Regions from separate parts of the Homo sapiens genome. Here regions 1, 3 and 4 are each linked to region 2. The links are contacts of gene promoters, found by promoter capture Hi-C in blood cells and fetal thymus (Javierre and others, 2016). All regions are on one chromosome and are shown on one strand. Each heading gives the region's core, a stretch centred on a gene start or on the middle of the fragment in contact. The rest is flanking DNA. Distances are from core to core; before and after follow the strand shown. Region 1 overlaps TNIP1 (TNFAIP3 interacting protein 1). Region 2 holds the start of RPS14 (ribosomal protein S14). Region 3 has its middle 2.2 kb from the start of TNIP1. Region 4 holds the start of CCDC69 (coiled-coil domain containing 69).

Region 1 (3,029 bases), core at 505-3,004, 610 kb before region 2:
TCATTGCCATTCCTCCAGAGTTCAGAGAAGTGGGAGGTCAGTGCAGCAGAGCACTGGATGGCGAGTCAGGAAACCTCAGTTCTCGTTATACCTCTGCCACTGACTTACAGGGCAACTTTGGGCAAGTTCCTCCTCCCCATAGCTTGGTTTCCCGGCCTGATCTCTGAGGCTCCCTGTAGCTCTGCTGTCCTGTGATTCCCATAACTGTTTCCGGGAGGCTGCTGGAGGAGCTGAGCCGTGGACAGGGTGGGAAGGATGAGCAGAACTTGCAGAGGCAGAGAGGACACAGAGAGGACACATGCAGAGACACCAGACCTGGTGTGTGTGGGTTCAGGCAGGGTAAAGTGGGGAGCCCAACTGGATGCTGCTGTGGATGGGACCTGCGGCTGTAGGGCCTTAGATGCCCAGCAGGGGAGCTGGGCCCAGTGCCGTCTGCAGTAGGGTAACACTGCAGGTCCTTGGGAGTGGAATTGGTGTAACAAAGGCAATGTCTTTGGTAGGAGTATTCCAGATAGACTAGAGAGAAAGAGTCAACTATCTGGCCCACGGTGTGCTTTATTTCTTACATACTGTACTAGTTTGGGACTTTCTGAAATAGCTAAAGCTGTGGTTCCTTAAACTGTTTTGAGTCTTGGGTCCTCAGAAGCTGATGAATGCTTGGGCCATTCCCCAGAAGACACATGTGTAGGCCAGGCATGGTGGCTTACGCCTGTAATCTCAGTACTTTGGGAGGCCGAGGTGGGTGGATCACCTGAGGTCAGGAGTTCAAGACCAGCCTGGCCATTGTGGTGAAACCCCGTCTCAACTAAAAATACAAAAATTAGCTTGGTGTAGTGGTGCACACCTGTAATCCCAGCTCCTCAGGAGCCTGAGGCAGGAGAATCGCTTGAACCCAGGAGGCGGAGGTTGCAGGACGTATATGCAGATGTCCCTTGGTAAACATGGGAGAGTGGTTCCAGAACTCCCTGAGGATACCCAAAATCCATGGATGCTCAAGTCCCTGATGTAAAATGGCGTAGTAGTTCCCTATAACCTATACACATCCTCCTATATACTTTAAATCATCTCTAGATTACTTACGATACCTAATACAATGTAAATGCTAAATTTTGGTATACTGTATTGTTTAGGGAATAATGACAAGAAAAAAATTCTGTACATGTTCAATACAGTTTTTTGTTTGTTTGTTTTGGGACGGAATCTTGCTCTGTTGCCCAGGCTGGAGTGCTGTGGTGCGATCTCTGCTCACTGCAACCTCCGACTCCCTGGTTCAAATAGTTCTCCTGCCTCAGCCTCCCAAGTAGCTGGGATTACAGGCACGTGCCACCATGCCCAGCTAATTTTTGTATTTTTAGTAGAGACAGGGTTTCACCACTCAGGCCGTCTTGATCTCCTGACCTTGTGATCTGCCCGCTCAGCCTCCCAAAGTGGTGGGATTACAGGCGTGAGCCATCGCGCCCGGCCAGTTTGTTTTTTTAGAAGATTTTTGATCTGCAGTTGGTTGAATCCATGGATGCGGAACCCATGGATATGGAGGGCTGACTGTGCAGTGATGTCCCTTTTCTGGGCTTGTTACTGTCAGGGGTCAATTCATCCTCCTAAGAACCCTGTGAGGTTGAAGGGAGGGAAGGGTTGTGCGGACATTTGGTAGATGAGGATGCTGAGGTCCAGCAGACAAGTGACTTACTGTCAGGCACTCTGCAAGGCCCAGTGTGTGGGAGGATGGTGGCCCCGCTGCTGTGGAGCCACCAGTGGCCTGTGAGTCCTGGGTTCTGCCCTGTGAGTCAGCCCCAGACAGGGAACCTGCATAACTGGAGAATTTCCCGGGGCTGAGCTGGGGTCACAGGGGGAAACTGAGTCATGAGAAATGAGGAAGCAGAGGGAGAATGGACTGGCGGCGCCTACTCAGGCCTTGGTGAAGAGTGGGCCGTGTGCCCTTTCCCTCTCCAGGCGCTGGGCCCCCTGCCCCGTGAGGACGGCAACCTGATGCTGCACCTGCAGCGCCTGGAGACCACGCTGAGTGTGTGTGCCGAGGAGCCGGACCACGGCCAGCTCTTCACCCACCTGGGCCGCATGGCCCTGGAGTTCAACCGACTGGCATCCAAGGTGCACAAGAATGAGCAGCGCACCTCCATTCTGCAGGTGAGGCGCGTGGGGAGGGCAGCCCGAGACAGGCAGGCGTGCTTCCCCCCGAGCTCTTCCCACCTTCCTGCTCCTGGGAATCCACTGGTACCATGGGGACTTCTGAAGGCTGTGTTGTGGGCAGACTTCGGGCTTTTTGTTCAGGGTGATGAACAGGATAAGGAAGTTGTGGGGAGGGATGAGGAAGAGGAAGGAAATGGGGAAATACGGGATGGGCAATGCGAGTGTCATGGTTGGGGATACCCCCAGCAGCCCTGCCTTTATTTCTCATGTGCAGGGTTGGGGGATGGGAAGGGAGGGAACAAAGGTCAACTCCTTTCATAATGCCTCTTTCCCCCCAGGGTAGGCACCCTCATTATCACCACTTCACAGGTGGGGAAGCAGCCCTTTTTTTGCCCAAGGTCACCCAGCTGGTAAATGGTGAAGTAGGGATTGGAACCTCGATCTCTCGCATTCCAAAGCCCATACTCTTGACCACCATCCCAACCTGCCTCCCCTATTGAATTCCTTTTGAAAGCCTCCCTGTGCTGTGGGGAATGGACAGATTTCCTTGCTAGGCCAGGCCAGACCTTGGAGTTATATGGTCCTTGGTTCCAGTAGTGACCCTTTATTGCTGTATGACCTTGGACAAGTCACTTATCCTCTCTATCCCCCAATGTTCCTATCAGTAACATGAGCTAGAAGTGCCTCCATGGTTAGATTGCTGCATTAAATGAGGCCATGTACATGAAGCACCCAGTGCAGTCCAGAACCTAGTCCATGCTGGAAGAGAGGTCCCCATTCGGAGTTCATGACGGGCATCCACACTGGGCAGGGGGTCTTAGCCTTGTGGGCTTTAGCAGCGGGGAAGTGTTCAGTTATAATTGGTGACCATTCTAAAGATGGCA
Region 2 (2,804 bases), core at 87-2,586:
ATGTTGAGTTTTTCAGTTTAGCAGAATAAATTTTTTTTTTTTTTGAGACAGGGTCTCGCTGTGTCACCCAGGCTGGAGCCACGGGATATATTTATATATTTAAAATATATTTATAATATTTATATAGTATGTAATACAAAAATACTATATATATTCCATATAAATATTACATATAGTACATAGATAAAATGTATCTACCGCTTGCCTAGCTCTGTGAGGTACACTTCTTGGCCCTTCCCCACAGCTCCGACATATTCTCCCAAGCCTTCAAGGTCCTTCAATATTGTTATTAGAGGCTGGGCACGGTGGCTCACGCCTGTAATCCCAGCACTTTGGGAGGCCGAGGCAGGTGGATCACGAGGTCAGAAAATCCAGACCACCCTAGTCAACACGGTAAAACCCCGTCTCTACTAATACACACACACAAAAAATTTGTCGGGCGTGGTGGCACGCGCCTGTAGTCCCAGCTACTTGGGAGGCTGAGGCAGAATAGCTTGAACCTGGGAGGCAGAGGTTGCGGTCAGCCGAGATTGCGCCACTGCACTCCAGCCTTGGCTACAGAACAAGATTCGGTCGAAATATATACATGTATATTGTTATTAGAGGGCTATGTGGAAGTAGCTATTAAACACGAGGGCTTTGAAGCTAGAATTCCAAACCCTTCTGCAAAGGTGTGCTCTCAGTTAACATCCTTTATCTGTAAGAGGGAAATCAAAATTATTTGATAATGTCTTGAGGAGTAAATGAAGCAATGCATATAAACTGTTTAGCCCAGACCGGTCTGAAAATACATATTGAATAATTTATTCTTATTTTGCCCATTATATAATATGCCAAAGTAAGTGATTACGGTGTGTTTTCCCCGACTATGTTGCCTAGGCTGGCCTCGAACTACTTGGACGAAGCGATCCTCAGCCTCCTGAGTAACTGGGACCACAGGCCGGCGCCACCCTAGCTTTAATTAAGGCCGTTTTGTTGTTGTTATTCCCCTGCTCCACACAAGGGGCGCTGCCGCTCCAAGGCTGCCAGGGCGGGAGTCAGGATGGCGGAAGTCTGTCTAGCCACGACCACCGCCATCATGGAATACAGGCCCACCTCACCCCGCGGGTGTAGCCGCTTCGTACTGTCGCTTAGGCCGACCCGCTCGCAGCGACAACCAGCCCTCTACCTCTTTTCGCTCTCCCTTAAGTAATAAACCGTCTTTCCTTATGACGAGTCTTAAACTCTTTGGGAGGAATAATGCCGGCGTCTTCCGGAACCCGACCTCGCCCCGTGACCTCAGAGGTATACTTCCGGGACACGGAAGTGACCCCCGTCGCTCCGCCCCCTCCCACTCTCTCTTTCCGGTGTGGAGTCTGGAGACGACGTGCAGGTAGGAGGCCCGGGCGCGACAATCGGGGGGCATCCTGCGGCGAGGGGACCCTGTGGGGCTTGGGACGAGAGACGGGGGTCTTTCCGTGGGAACCGAGCTAGGTGCCGGGCAAGAGACGCGCGGCTGGCCCACCTGGATCCTGGCCAACTCGGGATTGAGTTCGTTCCTGGTCTCAGAAGGCCCGTTTTGCTTTCAGGGAGGAGCTTGTGAAGTAAGGGTGAGTGCGGGTCCAGCCTTTTAAGGCCTCGGCCCCGCAATACGGCCACGGCCACGGCCGCGTTTGAGCTGCACAGCGTAGTTGAGGGAACCCGGGACAGACGTGGGCTCCCGCCTCTACCTCGCCAAACTTTTTTCTTGGTGATCGCAGGCCCACGCCTAATCTCGTTTGTTTCCTCGTTTGCAAAATAGGAATAACAATAGCACCGATCCCATGGGTTTGTAGTGATCATTCAAAGAAGGAAAGCAGGGAAAACTCTCGCACTATGTTGGATGCTTCTAAATCTGGGCGATTCTTTCCGTTGCTGAGTCGGGCACGTTGCAAGTTCTGGGCGCTCAGGGCCCAGCACCAATGTTTGCTGTGCGCTTGCCCTGCGTTTATATACTCCTGATGACCACTCTGCTCGTTACTTTAGGGGATGTTAGGAACGGAGAAACTGCAAATTGGCATTTACTGAATGGCCATCATGCCGAAACATACTCATGCTTACGTATTTGAGATATGCTGGAGCCTTTCTATGCTTCTCGAGGCAGAACTTTGGGCTTCTCTCCTGTGGCGCGTTCCTTACAATAGTTAACGCACTGGGTCGTGCTCATTGGTCTGATTTGAAGATAGGAACATTTAACTTCGTACACCCAAGACTTACACTTGAAGTACTTACTGTGGTCACACACTTAACTAAAGTTTATATAGGGAAGGCAGAGGAGAGATCTAGGAACACCTGAGACAGACTAGGGTAGTTATTTGTGGTGTAGAGGCATCTTGGCAGGAGGCAGAGAGTGCTGGGCTGGGAGTCAGGACACGTTGTTTCTATGTTTGGTTTTGCCACTGTCTTTACTGTGACCATAGGCTGAGACACTCTCTATCTTCACCATCTGCAGGATATCGATTAGTGTTAGTGTCTTCTGAAAATGTTAAATTGTTCTGAACACCAGGAGGTTCAGAAGGCCTGGGGCTTTAGGCCGGAAGCAGTCTTATCCTAGCCTTCCACTTTCTCATTCATTCTCACCCGCCTTCCTCCTGTCAGTTTCTCTCTCCCTTAGATCTTGTGACAGTATGATTGCAATTATTATGAAGGTCATAATAGGTTAGAGTTATTTAGTCTCAGGACCCATCAGATTTCTGAGATGGGTCTTTTCCATTAGCCTGCCTTTTGGATATATTTTAGTGCCTTTGATATTTGATGTTGGTGACAAAGATTTAGTTCTAAATAGT
Region 3 (2,915 bases), core at 85-2,584, 630 kb before region 2:
TTCTCCTAATGCAATGAGGAATGTTCTTGTTTGATTTAGATGCTCCATTTCCTATCAGTGGGGTATGTGGAAACAGCACTGTGCTGGGAGAAGGATACTTGGGTTCTGTCCTATGTATGAATCACAAACTCAACGTAAGACCTCCCGCAAGTCCCTGCCGCTCTCTGGCCCTTGGTGTGGCTCCAGCCCTACAATGAAAAGACTGGGTTGATCATTTCTTTCTTTCTTTTTTTTTTTTTTTGAGACGAAGTCTTGCTCTTGTCCCCAGGCTGGAGTGCAATGGCGCGATCTTGGCTCATTGCAACCTCCACCTCCTGGGTTCAAGTGATTCTCCTGCCTCAGCCTCCTGAGTAGCTGGGATTACAGGCGCCCACCACCACACCTGGCTAATATTTGTATTTTTAGTAGAGACGGGGTTTCACCATGTTGGCCAGGCTGGTCTTGAACTCCTGACCTCAGGTGATCCACCCGCCTCAGCCTCCCAGAGTGTTGGGATTACAGGCGTGAGCCACGGCATGCCCTGCCTGGGTTGATCATTTCTAAAGACCCTTCAAGCCTGGCACTCTGAGTTCTATGTCTTGCTAGCTGGCAAGACTTTGGAGCATGATGCTTAAGAGTGTTAAGCGTTTAAGAGCCTGGATCTTCAAGCTCCGGTTACTTGCTGTGCTGTAAGACCTTGGGCAAGTCATCTAATACCTCAAAGCTTCAGTTTCATCTGTGAAATGTGGATGATAATGGTGCCGACCTCATAAGCTGGTTGGGAGGCAAATTATGAATAAAAGCGCGGAGATAGCACACAGCAAATACTCCATACATGTTACCTTTTAATGCTTTTATTATGCAGCCTCCACCCCTCTTCTGGAACTTGCTCTAGAGTTAAGTTGGTTATAGATGGATTTTTCATATGTTTTTTATTACCTTCAAATGTGTATTTGGGTCTGACTCTGTAGCTACCTCAGTAGGGGTGGTGGAGGAGGGAGTAGCAGAAAGGAGATCGAGAAGTTGCGTGCTTTAAAACAAAACCAAATAAAACAAAACAAAACAAAGGCAGTTTGATTCTCCTTCTGGGTGTGGCTTTGTGCGAGTGCTTGTCATTACTCTGGAAGAACAAGAGGTTGCACCTGCCTGAGTCACTCAGCTCCCAGCGTCAGGCCCAGCTTCTTGACTTGGAAATCCCCTTCCAGACCACAGGGTAGCAGGCAGTGCCAGGCTAGGGGGCCTGTCTCCCATTCCTGCCATGCTCCTAGAGGCTAGGGTCTCACAGAGGATGTGTATGGTGGGATGGCGCCTGGTGAGGTTGCATTGCTGAGTTTAAGAGCCAAGTTCTACCCAATGCATGCAGCCCACATCTAGACACCACTATCATTTCTTGAATGCCTACTGTGTGCTGAGCCTTGGGCTTTATTTGCATTGTCCAATTTATCCTCATGATTCACATGAGGAATAGGTATATTATCCCCCATTTTCCAGACAGAAGCCTGAGGCTTAGAGGGGCCACCCAGGTAGTAAGTGGCTGAGCAGGGATTGGAATCCCATTAGCTCAATTCATAGCCTGTGTTTATGACAGTGGTGTTTTCTGCAAGGCAGTGAGAAAAATCATGTCATTGTAAAGACAACTTGGTACAGTGGACCAAGCACACAGGACTGGGAGCCAAGGCCCTGGATTCCAAGGCCCTGGTTGTGTCACTCAATGTGTGTGGCCTAGAGTAAGTCCTTTTCTAGACAGAGGACTCAGTTTACCTATCTGTCAAATAGGGGTTTGTTATCTATGGGCTCCATGGTCTCTAACAGGGTGGAATGTCCTGAAGACAAACCAAGACTTCAAAGAATGGAAGAGGTGGGGGCAGTCACGACTTTATAAATAAATGAGTTTTCTCACAAATTGGAACTGTTAAGAAAAAGGATCCAGAACTAGGAAATCAGACAAAAAGATGACTGAGTGCCATTTTTTTATGTCAAGCTTGAGAATTCCCAGCGGACACTTTGAGAAATGAAACTGTCTGCCCGGCTAAGGCCAGACATGCTATAAAAACAGCTGAAATAGTGTGGAAACAAAATGCAAGTAATTAGAGACCAGCCATTTTTAGGTAGATTTTAGTTTTCAGTGGGTAGAGGGTGGGGGTGGAGAAGATGTGGGTTGGGAATAGGAAGAGAGCCCTGCAGGAAGAGAATTGGGAAGTACAGGCACAAAGAGCAGGAAGAAAACTGGCAGGTGCGGACCTGATGGGTGGAGACGATGCCTGGGAGCTGCTATGTAAACCAGGGCCAGGATTCCCAGTTTCTCTGTAGGATCCCCCAGTGGTGAGACTCAGTGGTGCTTTGGAGTTTGCATCGCTTCCTCCCTCCCTCCCTTCTGAATCAAGGCATAAGTGTAATTCTTTTCATAATTAAACTAGAATGAATATCGTTTTGAAGATCTGATAACACCGTTGAATTAACTGAAGGAACCCTAGGAGGTTACAAAGCCTTATAGGAGAATCCCCAGATTAGGTATATAATTTGGGCAAGTATCTGTGTGTGTATTATTGCGAAGTCACAGTTGATTGATGGGTCTCTCTTCTGTAAAATGAGGGTGTGTATTAAACAGTTCCCCAAATCCTTTCCCCTAATTCTTTTTGAGGATGAGGGCCTGTCAATGACTAAGTTTTCAACAGTACCAGTGAAATGGGTCTTTTGCAATAGGTTTTTCATAAAGCTATATTTAGTTTAAAGAGCTGTTCTTTATTCCAAGGTTAGACCTTCCACTTTTTGGAATTAAAATTTAGCTTTCTTTCTTTTTAAAAATAAAAGGATAAGCTTTTAAAAAGCTTTCCTACCCTTAAAGCAAGTTTATGTTCCTTACCGGTCTAGGAAATCCCAGTCTGTTGGGATTATCTAGCCCACATATAAGTAGGTAGGGTGGAAGGCGGCCTCTG
Region 4 (2,955 bases), core at 121-2,620, 770 kb before region 2:
CCTTTCCAAGAGTTTTGGGCCTGACTTTAATATTCCAATATACACGCAAATAGGCATACACACTGATTTTCAAAATTGGTTATCTTTTTCCTGCATTGCCATTTCAGAAACCTCAGCTAATAACAAAGAGAAGATAAACAAAAGCTCCTTTTCCTAGACACTGACATTTTATGTCCCATAGTCACCATACCTGGCCTGCCTCAAGAGGTTGTTGTGATGAATAACATCTATCCAAGATGGATAGAGTCAAATATTACAGATGCTTGTGAGGTGGAAAAAACTATCAGCCCAGAAGTGAGGAGGCATTAAAATTAAACTTAGTATTATTGGCCAGGTGTGGGATCCCAGGACTTTGGGAGGCCGAAGCGGGCGGATTACCTGAGGTTGGGAGTTTGAGATCAGCCTGGTCAAAATGGTGAAACTCTGTCTCTACTAAAAATACAAAAATTAGTTGGGTGTCGTGGTGCATGCCTGTAATCCCAGCTACTGGGGAGGCTGAGGCAGGAGAATCACTTGAACCTGGGAGGCAGAGGTTGCAGTGAGCCAAGATCGTGCCACTGCACTCTAGCCTGGGCAATAGAGCGAGACTCTGTCTCAAAAATAAATAAATACAATAAACTTAGTATTATGATTTATTTGTAGGCCATTGAGTCAAAGTTTAGGTTCTGGAGTTAGAACTGTATTCTGTGCAGTGGCTCATGCCTGTAATCCCAACGCTTTGGGAGGCCAGGGTGGGAGGATCGCTTGAGGGCGGTCGTTCAAAATCAGACTGGAAAAAAGAAAAGAATTTGGTTGGGTATGGTGGTGAGCCTCTGTAGTCCCAGCTACTCAGGAGGCTGAGCTGGGAGGCTCGCTTGAGCCCAGGAGTTTGAGGCTGCAGTGAACTATGATAGCGGCAAAAAAAAAAAAAAAAAAGGAACTGGATTCTATCTGGGCTGTGGTAACTTACTAGCCATGTGACCTTAGGCAAATCATGTTGCATCTCTGAACACCATTTTCCTCACCTGTAAAATGGAGGAAGTAATACCTTTGTTGCACTGATATGGCAAGAAATAGAAATAAAATGTATAAAACAACTGGGACAAAAACAGCCCTCAATGAATGATAGTTGTTAGTTTATCAAATAATTGCTTTAATTATTTTTTCCCCCGGCCCTTTCTTAGCTGAGGGTTCGGAAAAGCATCTGTTGCTCCTTGAGGTTTTCTTTTCTTCTGCCCTGACCAGAGCTTCCTATTATTTAGAAGGATTCTGGTCACCTGCCTCTGGTGGCGGCGCCGCTGGCCCTGCGGGCTACACTGAGGCCCCGCTCTTCGGGTATTTACGGCGGGCGGCCGCCCCAGCTCAGGCTCAAGACAGCGCTTCCAGGTTCAGTTTCAGGGTCTCGCCGGCAGCCCCAGCCGGCGGGCGCGGAGCGGGCAGCGGGGCCCGGATCGCAGGCTCCTCTGGGGGCCCCGGAGTTGGGAAGCGGCGTCCGGGAGCCCCCGGAGGAGGATGGGCTGCAGACACAGCAGGCTGAGCAGCTGCAAACCCCCGAAAAAGGTAAAGGGCGCCGGCGGAGAAGTTTGCTTTCAGAGGAGAGGGGAGTGCGGAATCGCTCCGCCGCAGAGGACTCGGCGCCCCGGGCTCTCTCTGGTCGGCCCGGGATACCGGACGGAGAACCTGGAGAGGCCAGCTCAGAGACGAGGGAGGCTCTGCTGGGAGGCGCCCTTTACCCCGGCCCGAGCCGCACCAAGCAGCCGAGTTTACAAACACGGCACCCGGGCCAGGGAAAGGCAGCTGATTCCCGCTGCCTCGGGTGGGGAGATGTCGTGTGTCTGTGGCAGGTGCCCTCTGCTTTCGGTCTGGGGCTGTTCGCTGTGTGGCCATGGACAAGTGACTTGACCTCTCTGGGCCTTCGGCTTCCTCCCCCCGGGGGTTAAAGGCTGATAATCTCAGGGCTGCTCGAAGAGTGTTCCACAGACTCGCAGTATCAGCATCCCTGGGGACCTGTCAGAAATGCAGAATCTCAGGCTCAGGCCCAGTCTTGCCAAGACAGAAGCTGCCTTTTAACAATATGCCCAGGTGATGACGCTTTAAAGTTTGAGGCGCTGGTCTTAGGGCTCTTGCAGGCCCCAGAGCTGGTGAGTGTGGGCTGCCCTTGGGGTAGCTGGGAGGGGCCAAAGAGGGAGGAGATCTACTGCGTTCTGTGGCCCTCTCCTCCCTTCCTGTCCTTCCCCCAAGGGGCCTTGGAGCTGGGTCAGGGCCCAGGGGACAATTCTCAGGTTTCTTGCAGTGAGACCAGCTGCCCCTTGGGGTCTGACGAGCCCAGAAGGTCAGAGCCTGGAGCTAGAAAGATAGCCTCCTCAGGGGACACTGTGAGGCAGAGGGGAAGAAGGACCCTCAAATTCTGGCCCCTTTTCTTACCACTACCTGCCCCCTAGCCAGGTGGGACTAGGTGATCCCTTAAACTTTATCATCATTCCCCCTTGAGACCTTGAGAGGCCCCAAACTGTGACAGTGTTTAATAGTTTTGCAATGAACTTTAGTCCTCCCTCTGCTCCTGCTTTGCTTGTGCCCTGAGTACAGGTTTTTCTGCCTAACAGTAGTCCTAGCCTGGAGGATTCTACTCCCTTCTCTGACACCTCCTGGCTTTCCTTGCTCTCCCTTTATTACCAGATTGAAATTCTCACCAACTCCTGACCTAGAAACCCTCATGTCTTTACTCACTCCAACAGGGAAACTGAGGCTTGGCTCTATCAGTAGAAGGAAGGGGCTGGCTGACAGGGATGACAAGGCGGAGAGACCTGAGCCTTGGCTGAGACTTGTAACTGAGCAAGTGGTAGGCAGACATTAGCCCTGGGTGTAAGTCCTGGTGGTGCCATAAACATACTGGGTGACCCCAAGCAAGCCCTTGTGTCTCCCTGGGTCTCAGTTTCTCCCTGTATGGGGAGTGATGAGCAGGATGATCCCTAAGCA

What was found. Contacts are between HindIII fragments. The CHiCAGO score rates a contact against its expected background, and 5 or more counts as called.
Region 1: a fragment that was not itself captured here is called in contact with the fragment with the promoter of RPS14 in region 2 in 1 of 17 cell types (naive CD8 T cells); the score reaches 5.2 in naive CD8 T cells.
Region 3: a contact is called between a fragment that was not itself captured here and the fragment with the promoter of RPS14 in region 2, in 3 of 17 cell types (activated CD4 T cells, naive CD8 T cells and fetal thymus). The highest score is 6.2, in activated CD4 T cells.
Region 4: the fragment with the promoter of CCDC69 here is called in contact with the fragment with the promoter of RPS14 in region 2 in 10 of 17 cell types (fetal thymus, total CD4 T cells, neutrophils and 7 more); the score reaches 11.3 in fetal thymus.

What each region holds. Positions count from the first base shown.
Region 1 is chr5:151,055,879-151,058,907 of GRCh38, reverse strand. It overlaps TNIP1 (TNFAIP3 interacting protein 1), which reads left to right. Exons shown (of 18, transcript NM_006058.5): 6 at 1,951-2,142. Among named protein-coding and RNA genes, the nearest start is that of TNIP1, 24 kb to the left of the region's middle. RefSeq lists an enhancer at 2,077-2,603. The HindIII fragment of the contact is 3,905 bases long and covers 1-3,029 here.
Region 2 is chr5:150,448,271-150,451,074 of GRCh38, reverse strand. RPS14 (ribosomal protein S14) reads left to right here and starts at 1,336. Exons shown (of 5, transcript NM_005617.4): 1 at 1,336-1,372. RefSeq lists enhancers at 948-1,267, 881-1,819. The HindIII fragment of the contact is 9,558 bases long and covers 1-2,804 here.
Region 3 is chr5:151,081,771-151,084,685 of GRCh38, reverse strand. It overlaps a transcript of TNIP1 not described here. Among named protein-coding and RNA genes, the nearest start is that of TNIP1, 2.2 kb to the right of the region's middle. RefSeq lists enhancers at 906-1,015, 1,136-1,245, 2,832-2,915. The HindIII fragment of the contact is 1,257 bases long and covers 706-1,962 here.
Region 4 is chr5:151,222,507-151,225,461 of GRCh38, reverse strand. CCDC69 (coiled-coil domain containing 69) reads left to right here and starts at 1,370. Exons shown (of 9, transcript NM_015621.3): 1 at 1,370-1,539. The coding sequence starts at 1,492. It overlaps LOC105378230 (a long non-coding RNA gene), which reads right to left. Exons shown (of 4, transcript NR_160730.1): 4 at 1,112-1,986. RefSeq lists a silencer at 1,418-1,497 and enhancers at 1,618-1,817, 1,838-1,947. The HindIII fragment of the contact is 18,522 bases long and covers 1-2,955 here.